Regions from separate parts of the Homo sapiens genome. Here all the other regions are linked to region 1. Evidence: promoter capture Hi-C in human tissues and cell types (Jung and others, 2019). All regions are on one chromosome and are shown on one strand. The core of a region is centred on a gene start or on the middle of the fragment in contact, and the rest is flanking DNA. Distances in the headings are between cores, read along the strand shown.

Region 1 (3,496 bases), core at 594-3,093:
ATTTGTGGCACTTATTTTCTGTGCCAGGCACCAAGCTAAGCATTTATATGCATGTTTGCATTCAATCTGAAGGTACCCAAATAAAAGGAGACTGGAGGGGGTCTCCATTTTTTCCAAGAAGTTTAGAAACTGGCCCAAGGCCACAGCTGGTCAGAGGCCAATCCAGTCCACCTGAAGGCTGAATCTGGCCAGAAGCCTTAACTCCCATTAGTGTTTCGTAAATAATAGCCCAAAGGCAACTTTAAGTGACATATTAATGTCCTCTTGAATGAGTCGATAGTTTTCACTAATTTTTTTTAAGGTAACCACAGTACATGAAACCCATGATTGTGAACGTATTACCTAGGATGAGGCAAAAATAGATAAATCTTTTTATTTTTATTTATTTTTTTGAGACAGGATCTTGCTCTGTTGCCCAGGCTGGAGTGCAGTGACGCAATCATGGTTCACTGTAGCCTGTTATCTCCAGGCTCAAGCAATCCTCCCACTTCAGCCTGATAAATCTTTTTTTTAAGGGAGAAAAGTGTTCAAATACAGGTAGTAGACAAAATTGTGAAACCATTTTAAAATTGTGAGGTCTGGGTAACAGAATCAGAGCTGCTGCGGTTCCAGTGGGACGGGAGGAGAAGGGACAAGCAGCCCCTCACTAGACAAAACCAGGGCCAACTGGTACGTCATTCAAATATTTTTGAGCACCTAACACGGACCCAGGCCTAGAGAAAGGGGCTGTTGTGGGTTGGAACCTGGAGACCCGCCTCCGCCCTTCCCCAAAGACAGCCTCGTCCAGTTCCCAATGCCTGGGAAAGAAGAAGGGTCCTCACAGCCTGATTGGGCCTTCCAGGTAGTGAGCGCTCAAGGTTGGGGAAAGGTTGGTCTGGTGTTTGCCCTTCCCCAGCAACTCCCTCCTCTTGCCCGTCACTTCTTAACCCCTTACTCTTCCCTCAAACTGGGGAGCAACAGAAGATAAGGGTCCCCCAAACGCCACGCTCCGAATGCACGTAAAGAGCCCCCAGAAAAGTGGGGGGGCGGGGGGTAGCCGGGAAAGTAGCGTGAATCTGGAAGGCCTCCCCAAACCTCCCAGAGGGCGGAAGTGCGTCACTATGTCCGACCCGCAGTGCATTTTGGGAATTGTAGTGAAGCGGGTGGGGGACGCCGAGCCCCCGATGGTGTAACCCTTTAGAGACCAGAGCGCGCGGGCAGAGCTGGGACAGGGTTAGAGGGCGGCCAGTCGCCCCACTCTTTTAGCAGAGAAACAACTGAGACAAGGCTCTGGCTCGGAAGCCCTTAGTCCTCTCCCTTCTCTGGCTGTGGCGGGCCCCAGAAGCATATATCTAGGATTCCGGGGGGAGGACGAAGTGCCAGGTGGCCACCCCCACCCCCACCTAGTTGCCAGCTTCCCGTCCCTGCTCTGAAGCCAATCAGGGCTTCTCCGCCCCGCCCCAGAAGCTGCTACTTTCCTAATCCGTCATTGGCCCACCTTTGCTGGGCGGGGAAACTGAGGTTCAGAGAGGGCAAGACATTTTGCCTAAAGCTGCACAGCAAATCCGAGCAGAAGTTGGAAGCCCGGAAGCCTGTCCACCCACCCCCACAATTTCTGAATCCGGAGTAGCTCTGATCATTTGTATTGCATCCTCGCCTACCACCTTTGTGTCCCAGCATCTTGCGGCGCGCTGAACTCCGGCCCCACGGAGAAGGTTGTAAGGTTTGCGCCGGCAGAGGCGACAACCCCCCCAGCCCGCGTCTGCCCGCCGTTCCCTTTAAGAGCCGGCCCCGGCGGGACTACGTTTCCCAGAAGGCTTTGCAGGCGTGTTATGTAACTTTCCCTGCGAAGCGGCCTCTGGGGCAGAAGAAGGAGGTGGAGGCGGCGGCGGCCGTTGCAGCGGCGGCGGCGAGAGCGGCGGGAGCCCGAGGCGGCGGCGCTCGCGGCCCATCGTGGGGCCCGAGCTGTGCGCCTCGGCTCGGAGCCCGGACCGGGCGGGGGCGCCGACGTGCCTCAGCCTGCCTTCGCGAGGGAGGCGGGAGTGAGCAGAAAGGCTTAGGGCCCAGGGGGCGGGGAAGGGGGGCCGGGCCTGGATCCGGCGGGGAGGCCGAGCCGGAGGCCGGACCGTGGCTCGCGCTGTCCCCGGGACGCGGATCGAACGTTGGCGGCGCGGATCGCACGTCGGCGGCCGGTGGAACGCGGGAGCTGGGCGGCGCGCGGACTGGGGCCATGGCGTCTGTGCAGGCGTCCCGCCGCCAGTGGTGCTACCTGTGCGACCTGCCCAAGATGCCGTGGGCCATGGTGTGGGACTTCAGCGAGGCCGTGTGTCGCGGCTGCGTGAACTTCGAGGGCGCGGACCGCATCGAACTGCTCATCGATGCCGCCCGCCAGCTCAAGCGCAGCCACGTGCTCCCCGAGGGCCGCTCGCCCGGGCCCCCGGCCCTTAAGCACCCGGCCACCAAGGACCTGGCGGCGGCAGCCGCACAGGGGCCCCAGCTGCCGCCCCCGCAGGCCCAGCCCCAGCCGTCAGGGACCGGCGGCGGCGTGTCGGGCCAGGACCGCTATGACAGGGCCACATCATCAGGCCGCCTCCCCCTGCCCTCGCCCGCCCTGGAGTACACTCTGGGGTCCCGCCTGGCCAATGGGCTGGGCCGTGAGGAGGCCGTGGCTGAGGGGGCGCGAAGGGCCTTGCTTGGCTCCATGCCTGGCTTGATGCCCCCTGGGCTGCTGGCAGCTGCAGTGTCTGGCCTGGGAAGCCGAGGCCTGACGCTGGCACCCGGCTTGAGTCCTGCCCGTCCCCTCTTCGGCTCCGATTTCGAGAAAGAGAAGCAGCAGAGGAATGCGGACTGTCTGGCAGAACTGAACGAGGCCATGCGAGGCCGGGCAGAGGAATGGCACGGGCGCCCCAAAGCAGTGCGGGAACAGCTACTGGCGCTGTCCGCCTGCGCCCCGTTCAATGTGCGCTTCAAGAAGGATCACGGGCTGGTGGGGCGAGTGTTCGCCTTCGATGCTACTGCCCGTCCTCCAGGATACGAGTTCGAGCTGAAGCTCTTCACCGAATACCCCTGTGGTTCCGGCAATGTGTACGCCGGCGTCCTGGCAGTGGCTCGCCAGATGTTCCACGATGCTCTGCGGGAGCCGGGCAAGGCACTGGCTTCTTCGGGCTTCAAGTACCTCGAATATGAACGCCGGCATGGATCAGGAGAATGGCGGCAGCTGGGCGAGCTGCTTACCGACGGCGTCCGCAGCTTCCGCGAGCCAGCTCCCGCGGAGGCCCTGCCCCAGCAGTACCCAGAGCCGGCCCCTGCGGCTCTCTGTGGCCCACCCCCGCGAGCCCCATCCCGGAACCTGGCGCCCACGCCGCGCCGTCGCAAGGCATCCCCCGAGCCGGAGGGCGAGGCGGCTGGGAAGATGACCACCGAGGAGCAGCAGCAACGGCACTGGGTGGCACCCGGCGGCCCGTACTCCGCTGAGACCCCTGGTGTGCCCTCGCCCATTGCCGCCCTGAAGAATGTG
Region 2 (3,496 bases), core at 689-3,188, 830 kb before region 1:
GGTGCCGCAGGTGCCCGAGCCCTCGTGGCTCATGTCCTGATGCGTCCCTCCTTTCCCTTCTCAGTGGTCCACGTCTACTGTACTGAGTGCTTTACATGGCATTTCACTGGGTCCACAGCCTTAAAAAGAGGGAGCAGGTGTCCACATGCTCCAGATGAGACGGAGGGGACCGCTGCTCCTGTCTCGAGGAGGCTTCCACCACCTACCAGCCAGGCGTCCTCGGTAATCCTAGCACCTCTGCCACAGGGCACTAATGCCCAGTTCCTGGGTTGTAAAGGGCTGTGCCCCAGTCCCCCAGCAGGCCCCAGTGAACATACGAGAAAGGATGGAGGCCGCTGTCTGGACACTCAGGACATGGCAGCGTTTTGCTGGGACAGTCATCTGCCCTTCAGGAAAAAGGGTGCAGGTGGGCAGGAGGCCCTTAGATGACGCCAAGGGGAGCCTTCGTGGGCTCCACGTGGTGTGCTCCCTGCCCATCCCTCTGGGCTCAATGCAGTTCCCCAGGTGGTGGTTTGGGTTTTCACTCCAGCCTCAGACTTCCTTCCTCAGCCCCAGCCCCCGGATGTGGTGACAGAATCGATACTGTACCGACCTCAGCTACCCCCAACGGCCGTACACCAGGAAGAGGGGCTCTTCTGGCAGCCCCCATCCTCAGCCAGCCCTGCCATTTCCAGTCCTGCCAGCATCCCAGCCAGACAGGTGGCCCTTCTCTTAGAGCTCAAACCTAGGCCTTGACTTGTCAATCAAAGGGGTGGGTGGGGCAGCTTCCCTCAAGCAACTTCACTCTGGGATCTTGGGCAAGACGTTTTGCTTCTCTGAGGCTTCAGCTTATTCTGTGTAAACTAAATGGTAGCCACTATTTGATTATTAGCTGGGGAGGAGAGATCAAGCCTGACCCCTGTAGCGGCTGGAGTTTTACAGCAGGGCCCACCCAGCACCCAGTAGGTCCTCACAGATACTTGCTGGGTGACTGAATGGGTGTGCCCACCCATCAAAGCCTGAGTGCTGGAGGTGGCCACCCCTTTCCGCGTATTATCAGAGACAACCACCTCTTACTGAACTGCTGCGTTTCCAGGCACCAGTATACCATGGCATCGGCTCCCACCATCCCATGTGGGGTCAGTCCTATTACAGTCCCAACAGATGGAGGGACTGAGGCTCACAGAGAAGCCACTCACCCAAAGTCACATGGAGAGAAAGACACGCACACGTACTCCACATCCCCAGGAGACACACTCTGCATCTATGAAGTGGTATGGGTGTGCTGTCCTCCCTCGGGGCAGCCCCACACTATCCTAAGGCGGGGTTGGGGTGGGCGGGGGGATGGACCCTCCCCACCCATCCAGTTAGCGCCATGCACCTTGCCCACCATCGCTGGAGACAGACCTAAGGCGAGCCCCTTCCTACCCATCTGGAGGCCTCGGTCTTTCCATGTGTTAAATGGGCTGGGGCCGGGGGACGCTCTGCAGCACCCCCTTCCCTGGGCTGGGACGCGGCGGGGAGGGCAGGGGTGACGCTCGGAGAACAGAGAGGCCGAACCCAGAGAGCGGGCCGGGACCTGATACCGATTTCCCACCCGTCCCCTGCCATGGGCGCCGGACGCCTGCCGGAGAGGGCTCCCCTCCTTAAAGGGCCAGTGGCCTCCAAGCCCGACGCCTGCGACCGGCGGTGGGTGATAGTGTTTCCCCTCCCTGTCCAGCCGAGGGAAAAGTTAACTTTCCAGGCTTGGCTGTGTTCAGGGAAGGAACTGGTCTCGCCTGCCTGCCCTCCATCCCTCACACCATCCCTTGTCCCGGACCCTGGAGGCGGAGGTCCAGCCCCCAACTCGGAGGCCCCGGGCCCACCCTCCCCTTCCGCCCCCGGCCCCTCGGCAGGCTCCGCCCCTCTCTGACGTCGCCGAGGCCCGCGCCGATTGGTCGACTGCACTGTCGCTCCGGACACTTCCTCCTGGGCCGCCGCCGCCGCCGCCGACTTAAACTTTGGAGGGGGAAAAAGAGCTACTGGCGCCTGGCGACCCTCCCTGCCCCCCACCCAACCCCGCTCCGGCAACGCCCCCTTCCTCACGGCTCCCGACCGAACTTTTCTCCAACTTCTGCGACTCGTGAGATTCCCTTCTACCCACTCCGGCCCTCGGGACCCCTCTGCCCATCCCCTGGCCGGTCGGGTCCCTGCGAACCCCTTTATCTCTGGAATCCACTCGGTCCCCGACTCAGAGACTCCTGCCCTCCACCCCCAAGGTGAATTCCCCCGGGCCGCCTTCTGAGTGGGATCCTCTTCTTGGAGCACTGGATCCTGGGATTCCCTCTGCCCCCTTCTCAATCCCTCCTCTAGGGAAGGGGCCTTTGAATCGCGGGCTCTCCTGATCCCTGTGACCCCGACCTACTAGATTTCCTCTCAGGCTTCTTGGAATCTCAATCGCTGGGACCTCCAACCCACTACTTTTCTCCTTTCTGATCTTCTGGGAGCCCTGGATTCCGGGCCTCTGACCCACTATAGTGCCTTTCTCTCCTTCCCAGGACCCCGCCATCCTCAGGTCCCCTCCGCCTGCCAGATCTTTTCTCGGATCCCCGCTCTCCCACCACCTGCTCACGAGATCCCGCGGATCTAGAACCCAGGGTCCCCCGGGGCCCCCCGGCCGGGTCCCGGGTGGGCTCCAGGCGGCCGGTCCCCGGCCTCCCCCCATGGCCACCGCCCCCTCTTATCCCGCCGGGCTCCCTGGCTCTCCCGGGCCGGGGTCTCCTCCGCCCCCCGGCGGCCTAGAGCTGCAGTCGCCGCCACCGCTACTGCCCCAGATCCCGGCCCCGGGTTCCGGGGTCTCCTTTCACATCCAGATCGGGCTGACCCGCGAGTTCGTGCTGTTGCCCGCCGCCTCCGAGCTGGCTCATGTGAAGCAGCTGGCCTGTTCCATCGTGGACCAGAAGGTGAGGGCGCAGGCTCCCTGGATCCAGCTCGGGGAGAGGTTGAAGGAGGGGGCGCTGGCAGAGGGGTCTGGGGCCTGGTGTGCGGAAGAGGGAGGAAGGAGACCTGAGCTTTGGGTGATGGAGGGATAGGGGGCATTGCCCCCCTCCATTGCCCCTCTCCCCACCATCCCTTTGAGAGAGGACTGGGCAGGGGTGGGGTGCCCCAGAGGCCTCCCCAAATTTCATGTCCCTGCATGTCGTTGTTTTCTGCAGCAAACAGGGAGGAAGGGAGGGGCCAGCCAGGTGTAGAGAGGGGAGGAAGGGGCAGCAGATGTCGGCGGACCTCCACGTCCAGGCCCATCCCGGGCCTCCCATTTGGTGGAAACAGGAGAAATTGAACCCGGGCTGGCCATGGTGATCCGGTGACATGTGTGGGTGCAGGTGCTTGAGTTAGCTGCCAGGGGCAAGTGAGGTCTCGGAGCCCAATTCTGCCCTCCCCTAAGCCTGAGATATGTGTGGAGGGGCAGGCACTCCTACAGACCCTGGGGACTCTATTCCCTTTCCTAGTCACAGTGCTGTTAGCCTACTCTTAATTT
Region 3 (3,496 bases), core at 527-3,026, 740 kb before region 1:
GGTTTGACTGTGGTCCCACTGGGCATGGGAGCAGAGGGGACTTCCTGAATGTTAACCGTCCTTGTAACAGGAAGCGAGAGAGGGAGTCTCCGGGAACCAGAGGCCCCCCCGATGCCGAAACAAGATGCACGCCTGCCAGGCATCATCCTTCATTAATATGATATAACTTCCTGAGTTCCCTCTGGTCTGTCTGGGGACCTCACGGCATGAGGCGGGACAACGTGGCAGGACCTGGAGCCCACATGTACAGGCACCCCCAGAGCAGGGCTGGGGGGTCCCTTAGGGAGCCACGGTGGGGCTGGAACTTGGGCGTCCATCCTGCTGGAAGCTGCGGGTGCCAGCTGGGCAAGGGTGATAGGGAGATGGGGGGGAGGGGCAAAGGGGTTGTGGTCACACACCGGGGTACAGAGGGCAAGACGGCAGCTGCCCACAGTCCAGTCCTTGGGTTGGACACATCCCTCCTGGCCTTGGACAAGAGACACCCGCACAGCCTCTCTCCTTGTTACAAAGACCAATCTGGGATGTGCTGCAGGCCGAGGCTGGCCACCAGGTCCCTGAGGCCCGTGTTACCCCACGCACAGAGAAGGAGGCTGAAGTCTACCAGCTCCCTCTCCTCACCTGGGACCATCTCGCAGCAAGAAAAAAGGTGGTCAGATGGAAACAGGAAGCCAAGTCGAATGGATCTGAGACCGTCCCCCTGAGAAACAGCGGGGCTCAGAGAGGGTCTCTGAGGTTTTATCTGGCCCTTTTGGGCTGGGAGGCTGCCTGGGAAGCCACCGACTCCGTGGGAAGGGAGACCCGTGAACGCTGTGCGGGTAGCGGGAACATGTGGGTCTGTCACACTGGCCCGAGGCTGCAGCGGTGGTGGCTTGGCTGTGTTTGGGGAGGGTGGGGGACACATGGCAGCAATGTTGGAGCTGTGGACAGCTTCCTGTGATCAAAATATGATTCCTGAAGGTCAAGGTCACCAGAGCTTGGCCTGGGGCCTAGGGGTGCTGTGCGAGAAGTCGGACGGTGGCCCAGTGCTACCTTTCCATCATGGGCCATGGAAGTCTCCCAAGCCTGTCCCTGACAACTGGACACCAAATACACCCCTTCATGCTTTCTTCTCGGGTCTCTGCAGGGTGAGCTGGGTGCCCAGGGACAGGCTCGAGGGACTGGCATGTCTCTCTCTGGCCAAGCCTCCTTCCTCAGCTTTCTGGAAGGAGTGAATTGTGTCCAGGGACCAGAACTCTCAGTGGTGTCTGGAAAACACTACATCAGAGAGGAATTTCCTGGTCATTTCTCAATCCCTGGGCAATGTCCTCAGCCCCGGGGCCTGGAGCCCAGAATAGATCCCAGAGGCCACCCTGAGACAGCCCAGGCCAAGACCACCCCACTGAAGCCTGGTCAACTGTGCTCTTCAGGTCCCTCCTAGAGGCCCCCTACTACCCCGGGAGGCTCCAAGCCTAAGTGATGGTGACTCAGGAATTCCCCACCCAGGCCAGAGAGGGAGACACTGGGGGAGGGAGGAGACCTGTGTGTGGGGAGGTGGCAGGTGGCTCAGTGATGGGAACCAAGAGAGGATGTGGGGAGGAGAGTGGAGGCAGCGATGGGAGATGGATGTCCTGGATTGGGCGGGTGGACGGGGAGTGGGGAGTGTGCCAGGGGGCCCTCTGGAGAACAGTGAGGGAGGGCGGGGCAGAGAGAGGAAATGAAAAAGCTGGGGTGAGCAGGCAAGCTGAGGAGGGTGGGAAGGAGGGAGGGACGGAGGGAGGAGGGAAGGAGAAGCTGACACACAGACCGACACAGGCAGCGAGAGACACGAGGAGCAAAGCAAGTGAAGGCACAGACGCACGGGACAGGAGAGCCTGGGCAAGACTGGAGAGGTGCGGTGAGGGGCTGGGGATGCAGCAACACAGAGCAGGAGCAGGTAGAGGGTGTGGGGTTAGAGGGAGAAAGGTACGGGGAGGACAAGGACAAGGGAGGGGACAGAGACAGGGAGATATCAGCAAGAGACCGAGAGACAGGGAGGGAAAGAACTGGCAATGCCCGGATGTTCTCTGTCTCTTTAATGGCAGAAACAGAGCTAGAGAAGGAAAGAAACAGGAGGTGGTGGGGGGGTGGTGGGTGTCAGGCATGGTGGCTCACACCTGTAATCTCAGCACTTTGGGAAGCCAAGGTGGATGGATCACCTGAGGTCAGGAGTTCGAGACCAGCCTGACCAACATGGTGGAACCCCGTCTCTACTGAAAATACAAAAATTAGCTGGGCGTGGTAGTGGACGCCTGTAATCTCATCTACTCCAGAGGCTGGGGCAGGAGAATCGCTTGAACCCAGGAGGTGGAGGTTGCAGTGAGCCGAGATCATGCCATTGCTCTCCATCCTGGACAACAGAGTGAGACTCTGTCTCAAAAGAAACGAAAGAAAAGAAAGAGAGAAAGAGAAACAGGAAGGTGGGGAGAGACAGAGAGAGATACTGGAGAAGCCAGAGGGGAGAGGACTGCATACCCGCACACACAGGAGAACTGGGGGTTGGCTGGGAGGCCCCAGCTGCCAAAAGGACTGGCCAGCAGGGACATCTGAGTGGGCTGGGTGGTGGGGGTAGCCCTGGCTCCCTCTGACCCCCCACCTTGGGAACCCTCCAGCCCAGACCTGGGATGGCGGATTCGTGCAGGAACCTCACCTACGTGCGGGGCTCGGTGGGGCCGGCCACCAGCACCCTGATGTTCGTGGCCGGTGTGGTGGGCAACGGGCTGGCCCTGGGCATCCTGAGCGCACGGCGACCGGCGCGCCCCTCGGCCTTCGCGGTGCTGGTGACCGGACTGGCGGCCACCGACCTGCTGGGCACCAGCTTCCTGAGCCCGGCCGTGTTCGTGGCCTATGCGCGCAACAGCTCCCTGCTGGGCCTGGCCCGAGGCGGCCCCGCCCTGTGCGATGCCTTCGCCTTCGCCATGACCTTCTTCGGCCTGGCGTCCATGCTCATCCTCTTTGCCATGGCCGTGGAGCGCTGCCTGGCGCTGAGCCACCCCTACCTCTACGCGCAGCTGGACGGGCCCCGCTGCGCCCGCCTGGCGCTGCCAGCCATCTACGCCTTCTGCGTCCTCTTCTGCGCGCTGCCCCTGCTGGGCCTGGGCCAACACCAGCAGTACTGCCCCGGCAGCTGGTGCTTCCTCCGCATGCGCTGGGCCCAGCCGGGCGGCGCCGCCTTCTCGCTGGCCTACGCCGGCCTGGTGGCCCTGCTGGTGGCTGCCATCTTCCTCTGCAACGGCTCGGTCACCCTCAGCCTCTGCCGCATGTACCGCCAGCAGAAGCGCCACCAGGGCTCTCTGGGTCCACGGCCGCGCACCGGAGAGGACGAGGTGGACCACCTGATCCTGCTGGCCCTCATGACAGTGGTCATGGCCGTGTGCTCCCTGCCTCTCACGGTGAGTCCCCTCCGGAGCTGGGAGGAGTGGGGAGAGGAGGAGGGCAGCTCTGTGGGTTGTGCCCATGTCACAGATGGGGAGACTGAGGC

What was found. The method cuts DNA at HindIII sites, captures the fragments that hold promoters and counts their contacts. A contact is called where the count stands out against the background at its distance.
Region 2: a contact is called between the fragment with the promoter of PRKD2 here and the fragment with the promoter of IRF2BP1 in region 1, in 1 of the 25 tissues and cell types used here (liver).
Region 3: a contact is called between the fragment with the promoter of PTGIR here and the fragment with the promoter of IRF2BP1 in region 1, in 1 of the 25 tissues and cell types used here (spleen).

Annotation. Positions count from the first base shown.
Region 1 is chr19:45,884,488-45,887,983 of GRCh38, reverse strand. It overlaps IRF2BP1 (interferon regulatory factor 2 binding protein 1), which reads left to right and starts at 1,843. Exons shown (of 1, transcript NM_015649.3): 1 at 1,843-3,496. The coding sequence starts at 2,210. RefSeq lists enhancers at 1,019-1,068, 1,129-1,368, 1,519-1,668 and silencers at 1,829-2,308, 2,349-2,588. The HindIII fragment of the contact is 12,651 bases long and covers 1-3,496 here.
Region 2 is chr19:46,715,556-46,719,051 of GRCh38, reverse strand. PRKD2 (protein kinase D2) reads left to right here and starts at 1,938. Exons shown (of 18, transcript NM_016457.5): 1 at 1,938-2,921. The coding sequence starts at 2,682. It overlaps LOC107987269, which reads left to right. Exons shown (of 4, transcript XM_017027568.2): 1 at 1-406; 2 at 550-699; 3 at 1,076-1,253; 4 at 1,875-2,518. The coding sequence ends at 2,241. RefSeq lists an enhancer at 643-692 and silencers at 1,813-1,972, 1,993-2,042. The HindIII fragment of the contact is 22,581 bases long and covers 1-3,496 here.
Region 3 is chr19:46,623,369-46,626,864 of GRCh38, reverse strand. It overlaps PTGIR (prostaglandin I2 receptor), which reads left to right and starts at 1,776. Exons shown (of 3, transcript NM_000960.4): 1 at 1,776-1,868; 2 at 2,628-3,407. The coding sequence starts at 2,640. RefSeq lists an enhancer at 1,061-1,561. The HindIII fragment of the contact is 28,599 bases long and covers 1-3,496 here.